4 separate regions of the Homo sapiens genome follow, and regions 2, 3 and 4 are each linked to region 1. Evidence: promoter capture Hi-C in human tissues and cell types (Jung and others, 2019). All regions are on one chromosome and are shown on one strand. The core of a region is centred on a gene start or on the middle of the fragment in contact, and the rest is flanking DNA. Distances in the headings are between cores, read along the strand shown. Region 1 holds the start of ATF4 (activating transcription factor 4). Region 2 holds the start of APOBEC3C (apolipoprotein B mRNA editing enzyme catalytic subunit 3C). Region 3 overlaps CBX7 (chromobox 7). Region 4 holds the start of PDGFB (platelet derived growth factor subunit B).

The links. The method cuts DNA at HindIII sites, captures the fragments that hold promoters and counts their contacts. A contact is called where the count stands out against the background at its distance.
Region 2: the fragment with the promoter of APOBEC3C here is called in contact with the fragment with the promoter of ATF4 in region 1 in 1 of the 25 tissues and cell types used here (lymphoblastoid cells).
Region 3: a contact is called between a fragment that was not itself captured here and the fragment with the promoter of ATF4 in region 1, in 2 of the 25 tissues and cell types used here (aorta and lymphoblastoid cells).
Region 4: a contact is called between the fragment with the promoter of PDGFB here and the fragment with the promoter of ATF4 in region 1, in 1 of the 25 tissues and cell types used here (mesenchymal stem cells).

Annotation. Positions count from the first base shown.
Region 1 is chr22:39,519,191-39,522,048 of GRCh38, forward strand. It overlaps ATF4 (activating transcription factor 4), which reads left to right and starts at 1,372. Exons shown (of 3, transcript NM_182810.3): 1 at 1,372-1,561; 2 at 2,164-2,481; 3 at 2,583-2,858. The coding sequence starts at 2,256. RefSeq lists a silencer at 710-909 and enhancers at 1,290-1,439, 1,800-1,849. The HindIII fragment of the contact is 4,198 bases long and covers 1-2,753 here.
Region 2 is chr22:39,012,803-39,015,660 of GRCh38, forward strand. It overlaps APOBEC3C (apolipoprotein B mRNA editing enzyme catalytic subunit 3C), which reads left to right and starts at 1,455. Exons shown (of 4, transcript NM_014508.3): 1 at 1,455-1,577; 2 at 2,793-2,858. The coding sequence starts at 1,561. RefSeq lists enhancers at 667-1,285, 1,262-1,556, 1,286-1,903, 1,476-1,585 and a silencer at 1,696-1,745. The HindIII fragment of the contact is 14,453 bases long and covers 1-2,858 here.
Region 3 is chr22:39,127,939-39,130,796 of GRCh38, forward strand. CBX7 (chromobox 7) reads right to left here. Exons shown (of 6, transcript NM_175709.5): 6 at 2,834-2,858. Among named protein-coding and RNA genes, the nearest start is that of CBX7, 23 kb to the right of the region's middle. RefSeq lists a silencer at 711-760. The HindIII fragment of the contact is 3,322 bases long and covers 1-2,858 here.
Region 4 is chr22:39,243,732-39,246,589 of GRCh38, forward strand. PDGFB (platelet derived growth factor subunit B) reads right to left here and starts at 1,251. Exons shown (of 7, transcript NM_002608.4): 1 at 170-1,251. The coding sequence starts at 232. The HindIII fragment of the contact is 11,810 bases long and covers 1-2,858 here.

The sequences.
Region 1 (2,858 bases), core at 122-2,621:
ATTTAGAGCAGTGCTTCCCTGGTTGTTTGATATCACAGCGCTCATACTTGTGTGGCCCAGTGAAATGGAGGCGGAAACTCAAAGTTTCCACCTTCACAGGGCCTGACTGGAAGGGGCTGAAGGATGATGGGGAGGTTTCTTGTATTCTTAAAACAGACTACCCCTTCCCAACGCACAACCCCCAGTAAGTGGCCGTGGGTTCCCAAGCGCCTCTCCTCCCTGGGCCATGGGCGTGACTGCTGAAAAGCGGGTTAGGCCGGGGAGTTCAGAATCCGGAGTGAATCCGAACTACCCCAGGGAGACGGCAGCGAAGAAAATCTTGTTCTTAGGAGAACGCAATCTTCGGACACCAGAAGTTCCTCTATGATGCTATTCTGTGGCAGCCTTGCACTTGAGCCGGATGAAAATTGTAAAAACCCAGGTTGGGCGACAGGACGGCGCGTCTTCCCGGCTCCTTTCCAGAGTTTAGGAGGAGCCATGCAGACTCAGCCGGCCTTTGGGGGTAGGTGGACAGGCCCGGCGCGCCCTCTCGAGGCCCCTTCAACCTCCCGGGGGCAGCAGCGCCGTGTCGGCTATGAATGGGGCCTCTGGAAAACTCAGGCTTGGAACAGGTAACCCCCCGGTTTCCGCAGGCCACAAATCACCACCCGCAACCGAAGGACGCGCAGGCTGGGAGCGGCGGCGGGGCCACCAGTGCGGACCTCCACTGAGGGCGGCGGGATCCGACCGCAAGGGCTGGTCCCTGAGGCCACTAAGGGGTGCGCTGGGCTAAGGCCGCCTGGGGGCAGGAGCCAGCGCGATCGTGGCGGGCCAGCAGGCGGGGCTGGCTGAGGACTAGCAGCGACCCGAGACCCCAACCCTTCCCACGCGGACCCCGGGATCCCTCTCCCAGCAGCCGCCCATCTAGGGCCCTGAGCCAATAAGAGCTCGAGATATATATGATTCACCGGGCCTGGGCCAATCACCTTGACGCGCGCTCTTCGCCAGCACCTCGCGCGATAACCTGGCGTCCTCGGCCTTCACAATAAAAACTCTTCGCCGGAAAACGACCTTTCCCCGCCCACTGCGCTGACACCGGAAGCGAGGCGTGTCTGGGAGATCACTCCGCGCTCCGGCGGCGAAGGAAAGAACGGACTCTGATCATAGAAGCCTAGTAAAGTAGTACACCTCTCTCCTTTCGTGAGGCCATAAGAACAAACTCCTTTTCTCGTCACAGCTACGCCCTGGGCATAAACGGTTGGGGCGTCAAAGGGAGGGAGGGAAGGGAGCGGGCGGGAGGAGACGGTCACGTGGTCGCGGCGGAAGGATGCGTCTGTGCTGCGTCCCCATAGAGACGAAGTCTATAAAGGGCCGGCGGGCGGCCACGGCAGCCATTTCTACTTTGCCCGCCCACAGATGTAGTTTTCTCTGCGCGTGTGCGTTTTCCCTCCTCCCCGCCCTCAGGGTCCACGGCCACCATGGCGTATTAGGGGCAGCAGTGCCTGCGGCAGCATTGGCCTTTGCAGCGGCGGCAGCAGCACCAGGCTCTGCAGCGGCAACCCCCAGCGGCTTAAGCCATGGCGTGAGTACCGGGGCGGGTCGTCCAGCTGTGCTCCTGGGGCCGGCGCGGGTTTTGGATTGGTGGGGTGCGGCCTGGGGCCAGGGCGGTGCCGCCAAGGGGGAAGCGATTTAACGAGCGCCCGGGACGCGTGGTCTTTGCTTGGGTGTCCCCGAGACGCTCGCGTGCCTGGGATCGGGAAAGCGTAGTCGGGTGCCCGGACTGCTTCCCCAGGAGCCCTACAGCCCTCGGACCCCGAGCCCCGCAAGGGTCCCAGGGGTCTTGGCTGTTGCCCCACGAAACGTGGCAGGAACCAAGATGGCGGCGGCAGGGCGGCGGCGCGGGCGTGAGTCAAGGGCGGGCGGTGGGCGGGGCGCGGCCGCCCTGGCCGTATTTGGACGTGGGGACGGAGCGCTTTCCTCTTGGCGGCCGGTGGAAGAATCCCCTGGTCTCCGTGAGCGTCCATTTTGTGGAACCTGAGTTGCAAGCAGGGAGGGGCAAATACAACTGCCCTGTTCCCGATTCTCTAGATGGCCGATCTAGAGAAGTCCCGCCTCATAAGTGGAAGGATGAAATTCTCAGAACAGCTAACCTCTAATGGGAGTTGGCTTCTGATTCTCATTCAGGCTTCTCACGGCATTCAGCAGCAGCGTTGCTGTAACCGACAAAGACACCTTCGAATTAAGCACATTCCTCGATTCCAGCAAAGCACCGCAACATGACCGAAATGAGCTTCCTGAGCAGCGAGGTGTTGGTGGGGGACTTGATGTCCCCCTTCGACCAGTCGGGTTTGGGGGCTGAAGAAAGCCTAGGTCTCTTAGATGATTACCTGGAGGTGGCCAAGCACTTCAAACCTCATGGGTTCTCCAGCGACAAGGCTAAGGCGGGCTCCTCCGAATGGCTGGCTGTGGATGGGTTGGTCAGTCCCTCCAACAACAGCAAGGGTGAGTGGGCCACCACCACATCGTCCTGGTGGGATCTAGGGTTAGGGGCCTCCTACCTTTGTATCTGACTCACTTGGCCCCATCACTCAAATGTTTTGCAGAGGATGCCTTCTCCGGGACAGATTGGATGTTGGAGAAAATGGATTTGAAGGAGTTCGACTTGGATGCCCTGTTGGGTATAGATGACCTGGAAACCATGCCAGATGACCTTCTGACCACGTTGGATGACACTTGTGATCTCTTTGCCCCCCTAGTCCAGGAGACTAATAAGCAGCCCCCCCAGACGGTGAACCCAATTGGCCATCTCCCAGAAAGTTTAACAAAACCCGACCAGGTTGCCCCCTTCACCTTCTTACAACCTCTTCCCCTTTCCCCAG
Region 2 (2,858 bases), core at 205-2,704, 510 kb before region 1:
AAAAAGTAAAGACACAAGACAAAGAGATAAAGCGAAAACAGCTGGGCCCGGGGGACCACTACCATCAAGACACGGAGATGGGTAGTGGCCCCAAATGGTTGCGTGCACTGTTATTTATTGCATACAAGACAAGGGGGGCAGGGTAAGGAGGGTGAGTCGTCCAAGTGATTGATAAGGTCGAGCAAGTCACGTGATCATAGGACAGGGGGCCCTTCCCTTATAGGTAGCCGAAGCAGAGAGGGAAGGCAGTATACGTCAGCGTTTTCTTCTATGCACCTATCAGAAAGATCAAAGACTTTAAGACTTTCACTATTTCTTCTACCGCTATCTTCTGAGAACTTCAAAGAGGGACCAGGAGTACAGGAGGAAAGTGGACAAGGAGCGTGACCATTGAAGCACAGCATCACAGGGAGGGGTTTAGGCCTCCGGATGGCTGCAGGCAGGCCTGGATACTATCCAGCCTCCCACAAGAAGCTGGTGGAGCTGAGCGTTCCCTGACTCCTCCAAGAAAAGGGAGACTCCCTTTCGTGGTCCGCTAAGTAACGATGCCTTCCTAGGCACTGGCGTTACCGCCTGACCAAGGAGCCCTCCAGTAGCCCTTATGCGGGTGTGACAGAGGGCTCACCTCTTGCATTCTCGGTCACTTCTCACAACAGCCCTTCAGCACCTGACCCTATACCCACCGGTTATTTCTTGGTTATATTAGTAATACAATAAAGAGTAATATTAAAAGCTAATGATTAATAATATCTACACTAATGATTGATAATGTCCATGATCATCTCTGTATCTAATTTGTATTATAACTATTCTTATTGTAAGTATATTCTTTATTATACTGAAACAGTTTGTGCCTTCAGTCTCTTGCCTCAGCACCTAGGTAATCCTCCGCCCACATCTCTGAGGGGCTGAACTGCCCCCCACCTTCTGGAAGCTGGGAGGTTGGAAGAGGGGATGCGTGCGATGGACTCAGCACACAGCTGGGAACTCGAGGCACACCTAAGCCTTCGCTTGTGCTGTGCGGAGTCCACACTTCCTTCCCCACTGGGGTCTCAAAACCTCCCCTCACTCAACAGGGTGGTGCTGCTCAAAGCTCTGGGCACACATTAGGGCTGGGGAGGGGGTGGTGGAGAGGGGGCTCCAGCCTGCCCAACCACCAGGCAACGGGGCACCTGCCCCTCTCTCAGCTGGGTCTGGACCCGCGTCCCAGGCTCAGGCTGCAATGCCTTTCTCTTTCTCTTTCTCTTCTTTTTGCAGTTCCGTTGGGTCCTGCCCAGGACAGATAAAGACAGAGCAGCCTGTCTTTATCGGAGGTTCCTCTGCCAGTAGGAGGGGCCCGGAGAAAACCAGAAAGAGGGCCAGAGCCAGAGAAACATGAAGCACCCCGGGGCCTCCCACACCAGTGCCTGAGCAGGAATGGGGAGGGGCCATGATTCACAAGGCCCTGGGAGGTCACTTTAAAGAGGGCTGCTCAACTGCAAGGACGCTGTAAGCAGGAAGAGAAGCCACAGCGCTTCAGAAAAGAGTGGGACAGGGACAAGCATATCTAAGAGGCTGAACATGAATCCACAGATCAGGTACCTCTGCACGCTTTGTCCGCCAGGCCCCTCCTGCCACTTCCTGCCAGGCGGTCCTGCTGGGCCTCAGCCCTGGCCTCCCCCTGCCCCAGCCCCACCTCTGGGCTCCCTCCCCCCTGGTTCCCCCGCTGCCCCCACTCCCAGCCAAGCTCCTTGCCCTGCTGTGTGGTCCCACGACTGCTGCTTCTGAATGGGCCACCTTCCCCACTTGCCCCAGCCCAGTCCGCCTGCTGAGACTCTCCCCCGAAAATCATGCCCGGGCTGGTGCTTCCCGCCCTGGGAGGGTGCTTCCTCTGTGTGCTTCCCACTATTCCTGGGAGCTCTGGAACTGGGAGAATTGAACCAAAGGATGATTTGAGCAATCAGGCATTTTGTTCTCAGCGCTTTGGTGCAATTTCTGTAAGATTTACTTTGTTTCAATACAAAGTCTTAGGAGAGGGTGTGGGGGAGGGAATGGTCTCTGTACCAGAAAATAAGTCACTTCTTCCAAAGATGCCTCCACTGTGAGCAGAGTAGGATGCACACGACCCCAGACACAGGCTCCTCCTCTGTGAGCACCGTTCACCTTTCAGAATGACACCTGCAACATGGAGTGTAGGAAAAAATATGATGATCAGGAGAAATGCTCTTATTTTAGGCCAGGCACGGTGGCTTATGCCTGTAATCCTAGCACTTTGGGAGGCTGAGGCGGGCGGGTCACTTGTGGTCAGGAGTTTGAGACCAGCCTGACTAACATGGTGAAACCTCGTCTCTACTGAAAATACAGAAAATTAGCCAGGGGTGCTGGCGGGCGTCTGTAATCCCAGCTACTTGGGAGGCTGAGGCAGGAGAATCCCTTGAACCCGAGGGGTGGAGGTTGCAGTGAGCTGAGATTGCAAACTCCAGCCTGGGGGACAGAGCGAGATGCCGTCTTTAAAAAAAAAAAAAAAAAAGTAGCAGAAAAACTGGGAGGTTGAGGGTGTTCCATTGGTAGCCCCAGAGCTGGGGTTCCAGCTAGGAGAGGTCACCCCGGCCCTGCTGCCCCTGCCAGCGTCCCCTCCTCTTTCTCTCTCCCCGTCTTCCTGCCTGGGAAAGCAGCAGACATTCTCAGGGCTGTGGAGGGATGGGGGAGGCCCAGAGCCCAGGGACGTCCAGGCAGCTGTGTTCAGTGGGCATCAGCCCTGAGGACTCCGGTGCGGGGGTCTCTGCATTGGGGTTTCTCTCTTGTGCCTTCAGAAACCCGATGAAGGCAATGTATCCAGGCACATTCTACTTCCAATTTAAAAACCTATGGGAAGCCAA
Region 3 (2,858 bases), core at 127-2,626, 390 kb before region 1:
CGCCATTGCACTTCAGCCTGGATGACAGAGGGAGATTCCGTCTCAAAAAAAAAAAAAAAAAAAGGCTGGGCACAGTGGCTTGTGCCTGTAATCCCAGCACTTTGGGAGTCCCAGGCGGGTGGATCACGAGGTCAGGAGATTGAGGCCATCCTGGCTAACATGGTGAAATCCCGTCCCTACTAAAAAAGATACAAAAAATTAGCTGGGTGTGGTGGCAGGCACCTGTAGTCCCAGCTACTCAGGAGGCTGAGGCAGGAGAATGGCATGAACCCGGGAGGTGGAGTTGCAGTGAGCTGAAATCGTGCCACTGCACGATTCTACCAAATGTGTTTTTCTCCCCTAAGCTTCAGAACTGTTTGTGAACTGCTTGTGGGACCACTCTACCTCAACACCTGTATCATGGACTGAATGTCTGTGTGTGTGTCCACCCTCTCATCACCCACCGCAAATTCTTATGTTGAAGCCTTAGGCCCCAGTGTGACGTTATTTGGAGGTGGGGCCTTTGAGAGGTCTTTAGATTTACTTGAGGCCATGAGGGTGGGGCCCCCATGATGGTATTAGCATTCTTAGAAGAAAAGAAAGAGACATCAAAGCATCCTCTCTCTGCCAGGTAAAGACACAGTGAGAAGGTGACCCTCGCCAGATACTGTATCTGCCGGCATCTTGGTCTTGGACTTCCCGGCCCCCAGAACTGTGAGAAATGAATATCTGTGTTCTGGTGTATGACACTGTGTTAGAGCTGCCTGTACTGCCAACCCACACACACTCTGAACTCAGTGAAACCAGCCCGGCCACGCCTTCCTCTGCCAGGTGTTTCCACTTGCTCAGCTCTCACCCTGCCATCCTCATCTCTGCCTTTAGCCATGGCCAGGGTCCAGTCTTCACTTTCTGCCTAGTGGGTAATTTGGATGCCAGGTGGGGGTGCCTTGGCCTCTGCATGGACCCAGCTGAGAAGTGCACGAAGTCAACACGCCAGAGCAGCTTCAGTAATGGGATGGGAAGGATGGGAGAGTGGCTATAGATTCCTATCCCCAGTTGGACGGACAATTTCGGGAGGCGTTTCGAACCCTTCCCCGAAAGTCCAGGTGGAATCAAACTCCTGTTCCCACAGCACCCACCTCAATAATGTGCCCTTACCCTGGCTTTCCCTCCTCCCCTGGCCCTGTCTCCACTCTTGCTTCCTAGAACCCCCTCCCAAATAAACTACCTGCACCCAAGTCCCTGCCTTAGACTCTGTTCTCATGGACGCTGCATCAGCTTGCTACGGCTGCCATAATAAGCTCCCACAGACCAGGAAGCTTAAACAACAGAAATGTATCCTTTCACAGTTGTGGAGGCTGAAGTCCAGGATCAAAGGTCAGCAGGGTTGGTTCCTTCTGAGCTTGGAGAGAAGGCTCTGATGTAGGCCTCTCTTCCTGGCTTATGGATGGCATCTCTGTCTTCACACAGTCATCTCACAGCATGTGTTTGTGTCCAATATCCCCCTCCCCCCCTTTTTTTTTTTTTCGAGATGGAGTCTCCAGGCTGGAGTGCAGTGGCGATCTTGGCTCACTGCAACCTCCACCTCTTGGGTTCAAGAGATTCTCCTGCCTCAGCCTCCAGAGTAGCTGTGATTATAGGTGCCCGGCTAATTTTTGCATTTTTAGTAGAGACAGGGTTTCACCATATAGGTCAGGCTGGTCTCAAACTCCTGACCTCAGGTGATCCGCTCACCTCAGCCTCCCCAAGTGCTGGGATTATAGGCATGAGCCATTGTGCCAGGTCCCAGGCATATTCTTGATCCCTCACTTTCATCAATTCAGTGGCCACATCTTGACGCTTCCACCACCTAAACCTATCCCCAGTCTATCTGTTTCTCTTTCACTGACATGTCCACAGTTGCGGCCACCATCCCCTTCCACCTGCATGGCTACAACAGACTGTTTAACTCTTCTCCCCACCATCAGCCCTGCCTGCTCCAGCCTAGCCTCTGTCCTGCAGCCCATGATGCACTGAAATGCAGACGTGCTCCCAGGACTTGCCCTTGGCTCTGACCACCTGTCTCAACGTTCAGATGTGTGTGCTAAGCTTGGCTGAACACACAGTAGGTGAGCGTTAGCCCCATGACAGTCCTGCGATCCGGAATCTGCCGTTGCAGAGACCTGCGATGCTCACCCCTCCAAGGTTCTGGAATAAAGGACTCTTGGGGAGAAGCAGATAAAAGGTGCCAGAAGCACTTCCAGGCCTCTGATGACACACTACGGACCATGGTGATGGCCTCACCCAGAGACACCCGCAGTTTCCTGTTCCCGTCACCTCAGTGAATTCTCTGTCCATCTGGGGTCTCAGCGAAGGGAAAGACTTGTCCGAGATTATGGCCGGTGACCAGCAGACCTGGGACCTAAACCCCAGGCATTGCCAGGGGCTGAAGCTCTTTCTTCAGCACAGTGGGGACACCACTGTCTGGCCTCTGAGCTGCAGCTCAGCCATTGTAACCCCTGTGACCTGCACATATACATCCAGATGGCCTGCAGGTCCATTATGGCTTGTTCCTGCCCTGCCCCAACTGATCGACCTGGTGACCTTCTTCCGGACAATGAGTATTATGATCTCCCCAACAGGCACCTTGTGACCCCCTCCCCTGCTGACAATAGCTAACCACCTTTCACTGTAACTTTCCACTGCTTACCCCAGTCCTATAAAACTGCCCCACCCCTATCTCCCTTGGCTGACTCTTTTTGGACTCAGCCCACTTGCACCCAAGTGAAATAAACAGCCTTGTTGCTCGCACAAAGTCTGTTGGTGGACGGATGCACTTGACAACCACCAGAAGGAATAATCAAATGCCCAGGAATTTTCTTTTTTTTAAATCATCTTTA
Region 4 (2,858 bases), core at 1-2,500, 280 kb before region 1:
CTGTCACCCCCGGACCTCGCTCCCAGCCCGAAGAGGTCACCCAGCGCCCGGCGTCAGGCTCGCGGGCTGCAAGGGTCCAAAGTTCACTGCAGGGAGAGGAGGGGGCGGTCAGAAGGGGGGGGCGAAGGTAATGAATGAAGAACCAGCCCCAGCCGCCGTGGCAACTCACCTCGGCGCTGACCAGACGCAGGTAGCAGCAGAGAGACAGGAAGAGCGCCCAGCAGCGATTCATGCCGACTCCGGGCCCGGCCCCGCGGGGCCCCGGACGCGTAGATCGAGCGCGCCGCCCCCGCGGCCAGGGTGGGGGGCTGGGGAGGGGGGTGGGCTCGGCTCGGGTCCGCGGCGATCAGGCGCTCAGGCCTCTGCAGCCGCGGCTCACCCGCATGGCCCCCGGGCGCCGCCGCCCCCGGCCCCGGCTCCGTCGCTGGGGGGCAGGGGAGGACCTGGGCGCAGGACCTGGGTCCGAGGCCGCTACCTGGGCGGATCCCGAGCCCGAGTGAGCATCCACGGCCGGGGGGCTGCGTCGCGAACCAGCCGAGGCGTCTAGCCGTGTGGGGGCGCCCAGGGGACTCCAACCTCCAAGAGGAAAAGGAACACGGCAGTCGATGGTTCGTCTTCACTCGCCGGCTACAGGCGTTTTCCTCTGCCCGCCGGCTTAGCTTTTTTGCAACATTTTCTGGAAAGGCCCCCAAAATCGGAAAGCGCGGAGCTGGGCACCTCAAGGCCCAAGTCTCCCCCAAAAAACTTTTTCCAAAGTTGGCTTTGCAACGGCAGCTCGAGCACCCGGGCAGGGAGAGGTGCAAACTCCCGCCCGGGCCGGGTAGGGGGGCGGGAGCGTGTGCGCCCTGGCGCGGGGCCCGGGCGGCGGGCACGGCTGCTCCGCGCGCGCGGCGTGCCCGCTGCGCGCTCGGCTGGGCCCGGCCGACAGGTGGACGCGGCGCGAGTCCGTCGGTCCGTCTGCCCGCCCGCTCGCCGCTCTGGGCGTCCTCTGCGGGCTGCGGGCTGCGAGCTGCGAGCTGCGAGCTGCGGCTGCTCCGGTTTTCTCTTTGCAGCGAGGCTGGAGGGTGGGCTTTTTTTTTTTTTTTTCCTTTTTGCGCGCGTATGTATGTGTGTGCGCGCAAAGTATCTCTATCTAGGGAATGAAAAATGGGCGCTGGCGGCCGGAGGGGAGCCCTAGGGAGGCAGCGGGGGAGGCTGCGGGTGCGCAGGGAGGCAGGCAGGCCGCTCCCGGCTGCAGGAGGAGAAGTTGCCACCCTTTCAGCTGTTCCGGCCTTTATAAAGGAGAAGGGAGAGTGCGAGAGGTGGGTGGAGACAGCCTTTCCTCTTCTGGCCCGGAGTCAGCGCCAGGAGGGGGGGGACGCGGGAGCTGGGGGAGGGCTTGGGGCCAGGGCGGGGCGCTTAGGGGGTCTCTGAGAGCCGAGCAACCCTTCAGTCCATGAATCTGGCCCTGGGGAAAAAAGAACTAGGGGTGACCCACCGTCCCGCCCCTCAGCACAGTGACCATGGACAGGTTAGGAGCCCACGTGGTCTAGGGGGATGTCTCCAGAGCCAAGGCCAGGAGTCCACGCTCCCCTCCAGGACCAGACATTTCCACCCTGGCACAGGCATGGCAGGGAGGGACTCAGGCTCTGCAGTCTGAGAGCCTGAATTCAGATCCTGCCCTGGCACTCGGGAGCTTGGGTCACCTTGGGCAAGTCACTTCCCTCTGTCCCCTCCATCTAGCCTCAACCTGGAGATGGGGCTATTGTAAGGACTCAGTGTTAGCAAGGGAAGACACCGCAAGGTGAACCCACAGAACCCGGCAGCCAGCGCCCTTCAGCTGCAAGCTGGGTCCGAGTCTCCTCCTCCTAGCTGGTTGCCTGGCACAACAGGCCCTGCCAGCGTTGGCTGAATTTGAATTTGTTGAACTGCAAAGTCACACAAACCCCCACAGCCCTGCAGCATCTTCGCAGGGCTACCAACATGATCTTCCCGTCAGTCACCCTGCTGTTTACTATCTCCCTCAGCCCCCGGGTTCGAGGCCCAGAGCCCACCCACCCACAACCAGCCTTCACACAGTTAACGCCTTCTGCCCCCAGTCAGGGAGCTGCTGTGTCCCTGCCTTCAGCAGTCACACTGTCTCAGTCACAGTCACACGTACTCACACTGGGCCCAGCACCCCCCTCGGGACACGCAGGCTCCTGCATCACCCAGCCTCCCGGCTTTGAGGCACCCTCATCTCCTCCGCTTGCACTGTCTCTGTTATCCGCCCTTCCCTTTGGGATGTCAGCCTGCTTCTCACAGAGGAGCACACTGAGAGAGTCACACCTGCTCTCTCTTCATAGACTGTCTTCTTGGACCTGGACAGGGTGGAACAGAGGAGGAAGGACATCTCAGGTGGTCTTTACAGACCACTGCAGGCACCCACCCACTGCTGCCTACCACCCAGCAGCGTGGCACAGTGGCAGAGACACAGCCTGAAGACACATCACCTTGGTCCAAATCCTGGAGTGGCCACTTGCTGGACAAGTGTCTGCAGGAAGGTTTTTTAACCTCTCAGTACCTCGGTTTCCTCCTTTATAAACTGGAGATGAATTTATAAACTGGAGCTGGGTGTGGTAACAAGCTCCTGTAGTCCCAGCTACTCAGGAGACTGTGGATCGTTTTGAGCCCAGGAGTTTGAGGCTGCAGTGAGTTGTGACTGTGCCACTGCACTCCAGCCTGGGCAACAGAGCAAGACCCTATCTCTAAAGAAATAAAAATAAATCTATAATGGGAAGGAGTGAGAGAGAACAGAGAGGCATGGCAAAATTTTAGTGGTGATGGAAATGTTTGTCATTTTTGATTGTGGTGATGGGCTTATGGGTGTATACGTACAT